3 separate regions of the Homo sapiens genome follow, and regions 2 and 3 are each linked to region 1. The links are contacts of gene promoters, found by promoter capture Hi-C in human tissues and cell types (Jung and others, 2019). All regions are on one chromosome and are shown on one strand. The core of a region is centred on a gene start or on the middle of the fragment in contact, and the rest is flanking DNA. Distances in the headings are between cores, read along the strand shown.

Region 1 (3,562 bases), core at 622-3,121:
CGCGCCGAGCGAGGTCGTCCCTCCCCTCCCCTCCTCTCCCGGAGTCCTGGCTCGGGCAGCAGCGCCGCCGAGTCCGCACCTGCCGCGCCGAGCGAGCCCCGCCCGCGCGCCTACAGCCCAGCGGGCCGAGGGCGGCCGCCGCACACACTCACCTAGGCCGAAGCGGTGGCCGGGGGCCAAGCCGTGCGACCCGGCCCAGGTCCTGGTGCGGGCGGCGGCGTGCACGTGCCGCATCAACCGCGGCGGGGAGGGCGAGGCGGCATCGCCGGAGTTGGAGCGCCTCGGCTCGCGGCCTCCCCCGCCCCCGCCGCCACCGGCCAGGAGCGCTCCCCGCGGCCCCCTTCCGGCTGCGGAGGGCAGTTCTCCCGCGGCTCCGCGCGGCCGGGCCCGGACCTGTCACGGCTGGTGCTCGCCGGGCGGCTCAGTAACATCCACCTCGGGAGGTCTTCTGCAGCCCCTTTCCAAGAACCAGTTTTTACAAATCCTTTCAGGAAGGCTTCCCAAGTCTCAGAAAAACAAGTAGGGGAGTGGCGGAGTCGAGTGCGTGACGGGCCAGCTGACGGCACGGTGTGCTCAGAGAACTCGGGTTCTAGTCGCTCCTCGCAAGGAACGAAGGAAGGGATGGCGGCTTCCTGACGAGCGAAAAATCCACGTCACGGGCGTTCGAGACTCCGCAGCGCCCGGGTCGGGGCCCGAACCGCCGTCGGCGGGTGGGTCACGGAGCCGCGCAGTACCCCGGCGAAACCTCGGAGCACGCGCCTGCCAGGCAGAGGCTGCCGCGGCCGGGAGGGGGAGGGGGATTTTTTTACCCTTTTCTTTTTTTTTTTTTTTTTAGCGGGGAGGAGTGAAGAGAGTGAGGTTTGGGGATCCTTCTCGGAGAGAGAAAGGCGGGCGTCGTCCCTTGTGCCCCGCGCAGGCCGACGCGCTTAGCCGATTCCGCACGTTGGGCAAGTGGGGGCACAGCGTCCCCGGGCACTCCGGTCCCGGCAGGTCAGCCTCTCCCGGGCAGCGCTCACACCCAGTCCTCCGAGCCTGGGGTTCCACGGCCGAAATGCCTGCGACAGAGAATTAGAGATAGAAGCTCGTGAATGTCCCTTTCTTCGAAGGGCTGGGACCCCGGGCGGGCCGCTGGCCAGCTCGCCCGCAGCCCGTTGCCATGTGCTCCCTGTTGCTGCTCCCGGTGATTGACAGGCCGGCGCACAGTCGGCGTGTCAGCCGCGAACCAAAGTAACATGCAGTCCTGCACGTTTTTGCCGAGGTGCTTTTGCCCCCTGGAATGCCTAGGAGTTCAAACAACGTTCAAGCAACGCCTCTGCGCGTTAGGAATCAATACACAGAGACGGGAAATTCAGGTTTTAAACCAATGCTTCACTCGGGATTCGGTCGCCAACAATGCCTAAACAAACACGCATTTGGTCCACACACCGAGTGCTAGCCCCTCTTCGCATAAAGGCATTAACGGCTCTGTGTTTCACAAATTCGATCGTTTCAGACTTTAAACGTCTACTGTTCGGTTAAGGAAAGGTGAAAGGGACCCTGCTTTTTCTTTTAGCGGTAGCATTTACTTTAAGAGCATTAGTTTTAGCAGTGGGAATGCTACCGGTGTTTTGAAATGCAACCAGTAACCTTAGCTGGAAAGCAAGTTCAAATAAATAAATGTTCAGTTCCTTGCAAAAGTCAACATTTCTCACCTTATCTTTCCTAAAATGTCTACGGAAGGAAACGGTACTTACCTAATGCAAAGATTGCAAATTGCTTTTCAGGCACATTTAACAGCGACTGTAGCTGTTCCTTATCCAGGGCAGGGAACTGTGCTGATAATCACTCTGCAAAGCACGCAGTGGTTTGCAGAGCGGTCTCACTCCGGCTACGCAGAATTTCAGCTCCTTGCCTCCACCTCCACCTCCACTCCAGGACACGCCTCCGGTGATATCATGTGTCAATCACTCGGGCTGCCCGAAAACCTGGAACAGGATTTCCTTAACTATCGTTTCCTCTTTCGTTTATGTGTACCAACTTGGAAATGTTGCCCTACAGACTCGTGTAATAAACATCCTCTTAAAACTTCGGGAGTGCCTCTAAAAATTCTGCAAATGCAGTTTGTCATAGAGGAATACATTCGGATTTAGTTAGCAATCTTCAGTTGTCGATCTCAATTAAAAGGATTGGTGGACTCTACTCTTAAGTTGAATTAGAAAAGAATTGTGAAGAATAAAAGAAAATGAAAAAAGTTGTATGCCAAGCCATCACTTCTGACCAACTAGAGGGAAAACGTATATTGACACAAAAAGATGATTATATAACATTACAGTTCCTATTTACAACAAAGTTCAGAATATGTGAAACCTAAAGTTCAAAAGGTGGCACTCCTTACTGCAAATGTAATATAAGCATATGTAATAAAGGTGAAATTTTCTGCTGTGGGTTTTTTAAATAATTGCTTTACCTTGGCTTGTTATATGATTTCCCAAAAATCAAGCACATGGAGAAAAAACCAAATTCTTTCAATTTTGTAATATAGTTGTATAATTTTGCAAAAAATACAAACCCGTATATTTTTTAATTAGCTAAAAGTCAATTAATTAGAATAGAAAAAATTTATCAAGAAGTTTTATAATTCTTAGTAATAGCTGATATGACTGGAAAAAAAACACTTTAAGTAGGAAACTTGATTTCTACTTTCTTACAAACTATGGGATTTTAGGCATTTATTATCAAAGTTGTGCCTTTTCATGCTGCAGTGAGGATAACTTTTTGTGGAATTGAAGGTTCCGTAGAAACTTTTAAAAGCCACCTAAAGACCAAAAACTTAGTGGAAAGGAAATATTTTTCCAGGTACTATATATCAGGAGTAGCTTAAAGTCTGGCAAAACAAAGCAAACAATAACAAAACTCTAGAATCTAAATCATATAAACATATAAGTATGGAAATTTTTAGTTCAAAGTACATTTTTAGTCTCATTTACAATAGCAAGTGGTTCTGTTGAAACTATAAATATATACATACATAACACACACGCACACACACAGGACTTTCAAATGTCTGAGCACTTTCAAAAATTAAAGTTGTGTTTGGAATTGCCTCTGAAGAACACAGAGCATTGTTAAGAACATGAATAACAATAAAAAAGCATCATTAGAAAATAGCATAGAATAAGAATCAAGCCAAAAAGCTACATATTCACTCTTAATATTATGAATTGTATTAAAATAGGCTATTTAAAAGAATAAAATTGATTTCATTGTATTTTTTTCATAGATCTCATTAGATTTGGGGATGTAATGAAATTTTACTAGTGATGGATAGGTTTCTTGTGAATGTATTTGGAATAGACAAATCAAAAATAGACTATCCTATCAGAGTATCTTATTTGGTTCTTCAAAACTATTACCACAGTTGTGAGCTGAGAGGTCAGTTCACCAATATGATAAAACCTGGAGAGGGAGCACTGAACATTCTACCTTCATAAATCCTACAAAATATATTTGAAAGATTTCTATTGCAAATACACTCTATTTCAACCAGAAATGTATTAAAATAATTTTCATTAGATCAAGTATT
Region 2 (3,562 bases), core at 746-3,245, 250 kb after region 1:
TTCCCCTTCTTTTCCGTTTTTCTCCCCATTGTGTGGCTATAAAACTATACCCTTTCTTGGGTTCTTTATTTCCTTTTACTAACTATATCTCACTAGTTCCTTCTGGACATACTTTTCTTGCCTGGTGCTTTTCAGAAATAGTGTTGGTACAGTAAGTTTTCTGAGATCTTGTATATGAGCAAATATCCTTACTTCTCCCTCATATTTAAATAAGTTAGTTGGATAAAATCTTAGGTTCAAAGTTAGTTTCCTATTTAGTGGCCTCTTGCATCTAGTGTTGTTGAGAAATCTGTCAGTCTAATTCATGACAGCAAATCAATCTCTTTCTGTTGGCATTTATCACATGTGTTAACAGGATTCTAGACATTAAATTTGCATTAGAAGTACAAATATGTTCTAAATTGTTCTGAAGTACTGCTATAAGTATTCAGAGTATACACAACCTCCAAAAAGAAAAAATAATCCAAAGATTAAGAAATAACATAAAAATACATTAAATTACTGTTAATTAAACTTTAAAAGTTCGTAGTCCAGTTTTCAGTAATTAGGATGCCACTCTCAAGTAGACATATTATTCTTTAACCAATATACCAAAAGGATATACCTCATTGGGGATCAGTTTCCTAATCTATAAAATGAGTAAATATTTGGAAGAGAATTTTATGTAGTGAATTCTCAAGGAATGATACTAACATTTTTCACTTTTGTTATTATCGTTTGGAAACTGTTAATGTCACCGGCTTTGGATTTAAACAGATTTAATACTAGTATATAAACTACTGACTACTAACTTTGTGGAAGTTTTAAATTCCCTAAACTTCAGATTCCCCTCATGTAAAAGGAAGAGATAATGAAAAGTGCTTAACATATTAGCAGATTGAAAGTGCATTATTTGCTACTATTATTAGGTGTGCAGTAATCTAATTGCTTAATTTGTCATATAACCAGTGAGTTTTATCTGAAGGACTCCTGTGTAATTTACAAGATGAAATGAAGAAACTGAAGCCAACTTTAAGGCTTTTATGTCTTTTACTCTGTATGTTCCTCTTCCCTGATGTATCTGTCCACAGTTTTCAGTTTCATTCAAAAATTGGGCAACTGAGTAAAAGAGCTGGCCCATGTATGCAAGTTCCATCAGTGTGGCCAGGTAAAATTATTCTCCAAATTGAAAAATGAGTAATAGAAATGGTAAGAAAAATAATTATTAATTATTTTTTAAAAATTAACTCTATGCAAGGCACAGCCTCTAGAACCACCACAGGAAGAGAGTGAATCTCTGCCTTTTAGAAGCTTCCAATTTCGGGATAAACAAAAAGATAAACAGCAATGTAAAGTCATATGCATTAAATGCTGAGTGGATCTTCTAGCCTGTATGTTCTAAAGAAAATGGAAAAGAGAAAAAAAATTATTGTCTTAGGAAAATAATTGCTTCCAGTACATTTTCAAAGCCAGTTCCACTTTTCCACAGGTCCATCTACTGAAAGATGAAACCAAAACCAACAGAAGACTACAAGGCCATTCAGAACTATTCATAAACTAGTATGACCAATTTCATCAAGTAATCAAGAAACAAAGTTCAAGTTCCTATGACTCTGAAAATTTTACAACACAGGTTCTTTGAGGTCACTTTTCCTATGTTTCAAAAACTGACTATAAAAACAAGTACTTTTCCCCCAACTTTATTGAGAGAAATGCTTTTGCTTTTAATCATATCTAACATTTAAGACAGGTTAAAGAAAGGAAATATCCCTTTTAATTATGGAGCTTTTTAATTACTGTGTGGTTTACAACAGTCTCACTTACAAGTCATCGTCCTTTCAAAACTAAAGCTAGCATCTCTCTTTATAGTATTATTTACTGGCTTCCCTTGCATCTGGCACCCAGGTCAGTGCATAGCAGATCAAACTATAATCTGAGCTCAGATCACAATGAAACAAAAGCCAAGGAAAGCCCAGTTAGCATTACTATATTACTTACAGCATGTAAATAAGCTGAATTAGATAATTTACATTTTATCCTTACATTAATTGAACTTTGCTGTGCAAGCCAGAAAGGTATCTATTAGAAAAAAATATTAAAAGCAAATGAAGCCAACAGATATATAGAGCTAAACAATGAGAACACGCTCTTTTCAAAATTTCCATCAGATCTATAAGGCAGTATAACAGAAAGAAAATGATTACAGTAATTCCTAGAGCAACTGGAAAAGTTGTCAACCCCATAGGTGTAGATTATTCTTGAGTTTTTCTACCCATTTACTGCCTTTTCCCCAGGTATACCACACAAGTTAATTCATTTATCCACTCACTCAACATCTGTGGAAATACTTCCTAGTACTAAACAAAAAGTCTGGGCTAACGAATACAAAGATGAAAACATTATATAGCATTACGATGAAAACATTATATAGCCCTTACAAAACACCAGTAGTCTGTTGCTGGTGAGGCCTGACTTTCTGACTGAAAAGAAGGAAAAATAGATTTAGCTTTCTAAATGTCCTTTCAGGTTAAAGGAAAAAAAAAAAAAAAAGAGAGAGAAGTTTATGCATATCCCTGAATGAAGTCAAGCTTTGGGTTCAGGAGTATTTTTATTTTCTCCCCCATGTATGAAATTTTAAAATCATTCATCCACCGAGAAATGCAAAGCATTACATTCTATTCTTCATGTTTCCACAGATTGGAGACTAACTTTATTAGTATATAATGCCAATTTATTAACATAATTTCTCCTTATTTCCTCTTAGTAACACTTAAGTCATGCCTTCTTTAAACTCTTGTACCTATATCAGCACAAATACTGTACTTAGTTATTTGCCCGAAAATTGGAAAAGCTCATAAGAAGGTGGGTTACTGACAATGGATAAGAGCCATATATACATCAACCATTGCAAATTCCATCAGATCTTGGAAATCCCTAGAAAGAAAGGCACAGATGTGATATACGTTAATTATCAAATTGTGAAAGAGAAAGTAGATGTTGATAGGTCTCCCAAAAGATTATTTATAGTTAATGTAATAGCGACGACTGCTGAAAACTTGCTGAAATATTTTGTAAAACAGGATTACATTTTTTAACATTAGAATTGAAAGGGAAAAATAAAGCAATTGAAGGTACAACAACTTAAAAATTTTAGTGCTAAAGTCGGGTGTGTATCTTTGATAATCTTTCTTTTTTTTTTCTGGAAAAACTAATAATACAGGGTGAATACCCCTTATCTGAATTGCTTGGGACCAGAGTGTTTCAGATTTCAGATTTTTTTTGGATTTTGTAATATTTGCATTATACATACTTACTGGTTTAGGGTTGAGCATCCCAAACCTTAAAATCCAAAATCCTAAATGCTCCAATGAGCATTTCCTTCAAGCATTATGTTAGAACTCAAAAGTTTCAAATTTTGGAGCATTTCAGGTCTTGAATTTTCCAACTTAGAATGCTCACCCTGTAATAGCTATTGCGTCTCAAGGCCTCACTTTACAACAAATTGTAAGCCAAATGATTCGTATAAATTATCTCTTCTGATCCCCTAATATTTCTACAAAAGAGTTATCATTCCTATTTTAAG
Region 3 (3,562 bases), core at 695-3,194, 160 kb after region 1:
TGTGTCACGAAGTTCTCATACCATGGTTTTCAGCTCCATCAGGTCATTTAAGGTCTTCTCTACACTGTTTATTCTAGTTAGCCATTTGTCTCACCTTTTTTCAAGGTTTTTAGCTTCCTCGCAATGGGTTAGAACACGCTTCTTTAGCTTGGAGAAGTTTGTTATTATTGACCTTCTGAATCCCACTTCTGTCAGCTCGTCAAAGTCATTCTCCATCCAGCTTTGTTCTGTTGCTGGCAAGGAGCTGTGATCCTTTGGAGGAGAAGAGGCGCTCTGGTTTTTAGAATTTTCAGCTTTTCTGTTCTGGTTTCTCCCCATCTTTGTGGTTTTATCTACCTTTGGTCTTTGATGTTGGTGACCTACAGATGGGGTTTTTGTGTGGAAGTCCTTTCTGTTGATGTTGATGCTATTCCTTTTGGTTTGTTAGTTTTTCTTCTAACAGTCAGGTCCCTAAGCAACAGGTCTGTTGGAGTTTGCTGGAGGTCCACTCCAGACCCTGTTTGCCTGGGTATCACCAGCGGAGGCTGCCGAGCAGCAAATATTACTGCCTGATCCTTCCTCTGGAAACTTCATCGCAGAGGGAAACCCGCCTGTATGAGGTGTCTGTCAGCCCCTACTGGGAGATGTCTCCCAGTTAGGCTACATGGGGGTCAGGGACCCACTTGAGGAGGCAGTCTGTCCGTTCTCAGAGCTCAAATGCCGTGCTGGGAGAACCACTGCTGTCTTCAGAGCTGTCACACAGGGACGTTTAAGTCTGCAGAAGTTACTGCTGCCTTTTGTTCAGCTATGCCCTGTCTACAGAGGTACAGTTCATGGAGGCAGTAGGCCTTCCTGAGCTGCAGTGGGCTCCACCCAGTTTGAGCTTCCTGGCCACTTTGTTTACCTACTTAAGCTTCAGCAATGGCGGATGCCCCTCCCCCTGCCAGGCTGCAGCCTCGCAGGTCGATCTCAAACTGCTGCACTAGCAGCAAGCAAGGCTCCGTGGGTGTTGGATCTGCCAAGCCAGGCACGGGAGAGAATCTCCTTGTCTGCCAGTTGTTAAGACCATGGGAAAAGCGCAGTATTTGGGCAGGAGTGTAGCGATATTCCAGGTACTGTCTGTCATGGCTTCCCTTGGCTAGGAGAGGGAAATCCCACAACCCCTTCCAGTTCCTGGGTGAGGCAATGCCCCACCCTATTTCAGTTCACTCTCCGTGGGCTGCACCCACTGTCCAACCAGTCCCAATGAGATGAACTAGTCACCCCAGTTGGAAACGCAGAAATCACCCAACTTCTGTGTCGATCATGCTGGGAGCTGCAGACCAGAGCTGTTCCTATTTGGCCCTCTTGGAATGGAACTCCTTTTTTTTTTTTTTTTTTTTTTTTTGAGACAAGGTTTCACTCTGTCGCCCAGGCTGGAGTGCAGTGGCATGATCTCAGCTCACTGCAACCTCCACCTCCTAGGTTCAAGCGATTCTCATGCCTCAACCTCCCAAGTAGTTGTGATTACAGGCAGGCACCACCACACCTGGCTAATTTTTGTACTTTTAGTAGAGACACAGTTTCACCATGTTGGCCAGGCTGGTCTTGAACTCCTGGCCTCAAGTGGCGTCACTATGATCTCCTCCCAAAGTGCTGGGATTATAGCCATCATGCCCAGCCCGTAATTGAATTTTAATATGGTAGTTTTCCACCTTTACTTCAAACAACTAGAAACATCTCAGGTTTAGAACACAGTCTAACAGCACCTTTGAGGCACATGGCAGGGACTGTACCCCCCTCTGTAGGGTTTGGCAAACTACAATCTGTCCCACCAGCTGTTTTTATAAATGAAGTGTTAGAACATGGCCCTGTTCAGCCATTTGCATATTATCTATGGCTATTTCCATTCTAAGTCAGCAAAGTTGAGTAGCTACAAGGAATAACAGATGTAGCCTATAAAGTCTAAAATATTTACCATCTGGCCTTTTACAGGAAAACTTTCTAAATACTTTAGAGTAGTGGTTTTTAACCTTCACTGTGCATCACAATCACTTGGTGAACTTTAAGAACCTAGGTTACCTCCACCTCCTTGCTCCAGTGACAATCAATCAGTCTAGGTCCAGGCAAATTATTTTCTTCGATTCTAATGTGCAGTTAAAGTTAAACCAATTTTCAGGGTTTCTCAAACCTCAATGTGCACAGGAATCATCTGGCTTATCTGCTCATCTAGAAGAATCTTGTTCCCCATTTACATCCCATTTGGTCTGGAGGGAGAGGTCAGACCCTGCATGTTTAATAAGCTTGCCAGCTGACTCTGACAGAGAAAGTTCCTAGACTAGACTTTGAGAGATATGGCTTGTACAAGTTAGTTTAAAAAAGCCTCATAGGTGAACGTGGACAGTCCCTTACCTCATAAATGAATCAAATCACTCTAAGTGCTCTTAAGCCTTAGCTTTCTCATCTGTAAAGTGGAACTCTATGTCTTTGCTATGAGATGCACTATTTTTGTCATTTTAATTCTGTGGCAGAATGTAAGACAATATATCTTTGGGAAGATTCAGATTATAACTTACATGGTGGCCTCATAAAAATTTAAATAATTAAAACATAATAAGCAAATATCACACAGCAAAGAGATAATGCAGATGCCATCATTTTAACACTATTTCAAGCGTTAAAAAACAAGACGTAACTATGTAATTAAGAATTGCACCAATGACTTTTGAAGCCAAACCTAGAAAATGAAGGGTTTACAGAAAGCTTATCATAAACTGCAATGATGACACAGTGGCTTATGGGTTGGAATGTATATGTAGCTACATCCCTTTCACATCCAGAAGATCTCAGTTACCTAAAGGTTCTTGAATGCGTTTAGGGAAAACAGTATCTATGAAGCCTTGAAACTGTAGGCTAAATTTTACGTGTAAAAATTTTGTATTTGTATTTTCAGGAGAGTGTATCTATCAGATTCCCCCCAAAAATACATTACCCAAAGGAGGTGGGGGCATTTACTCCTAGGTATCTATGTACTAACACATGGGTCATATCAACCCATTATGAGAACTTCTTAGAGAGAAAGAAGTTCATTTTGAGTTATTTTCAAATACTGGTAACTCTGCTTTAAAATGTATCCACTTAAGAAAGAAATTTATTGATTTTCCTTTATTTGTGGTATTTTCTAAGCAGAATAGTTAAAAAATATAATTTCCTCACTTCCGTGGAGGTAACAATATTTATAACAAAAAGTTTAAAATCTATTAGAAAAGCCCAGTTGCACTGCTGTTAAACATAAGCAGAAAAGGAATTTGGTTATTCTGTGGGAATGTGGTTTTGTAGTCCCTGGGCACTGAGAACAGCAGTATTTTCTTCCATGGTGAAGTCCAAATATGAGTACTGAAAAGGAATGATTTATTTGACATCTCTCAGGTATTTGATTATTCAGTCACACCAAGTAGTTGACATAGTCAGAATAACTTGGATTCCATACTACACTTATTCTATCTTTAGCAAAGGACTACTCGTTGTGGTCTTTCCAGACTCTCTGGAGTCATGAAAGTTTGATTTGCTTCTTCAATACATGTTCATCTCCATCTAGTACAGG

What was found. The method cuts DNA at HindIII sites, captures the fragments that hold promoters and counts their contacts. A contact is called where the count stands out against the background at its distance.
Region 2: a fragment that was not itself captured here is called in contact with the fragment with the promoter of SPRY1 in region 1 in 1 of the 25 tissues and cell types used here (dorsolateral prefrontal cortex).
Region 3: a fragment that was not itself captured here is called in contact with the fragment with the promoter of SPRY1 in region 1 in 2 of the 25 tissues and cell types used here (dorsolateral prefrontal cortex and spleen).

Annotation. Positions count from the first base shown.
Region 1 is chr4:123,395,104-123,398,665 of GRCh38, reverse strand. SPRY1 (sprouty RTK signaling antagonist 1) reads right to left here and starts at 1,871. Exons shown (of 3, transcript NM_001258038.2): 1 at 1,734-1,871; 2 at 810-1,055. RefSeq lists a silencer at 1-436. The HindIII fragment of the contact is 12,155 bases long and covers 1-3,562 here.
Region 2 is chr4:123,142,799-123,146,360 of GRCh38, reverse strand. The region is part of intron 14 of AFG2A (AAA ATPase AFG2A); the gene reads right to left. Among named protein-coding and RNA genes, the nearest start is that of AFG2A, 220 kb to the right of the region's middle. The HindIII fragment of the contact is 5,799 bases long and covers 1-3,562 here.
Region 3 is chr4:123,235,477-123,239,038 of GRCh38, reverse strand. All of the region lies in intron 14 of AFG2A (AAA ATPase AFG2A), which reads right to left. Among named protein-coding and RNA genes, the nearest start is that of SPRY1, 160 kb to the left of the region's middle. The HindIII fragment of the contact is 3,538 bases long and covers 176-3,562 here.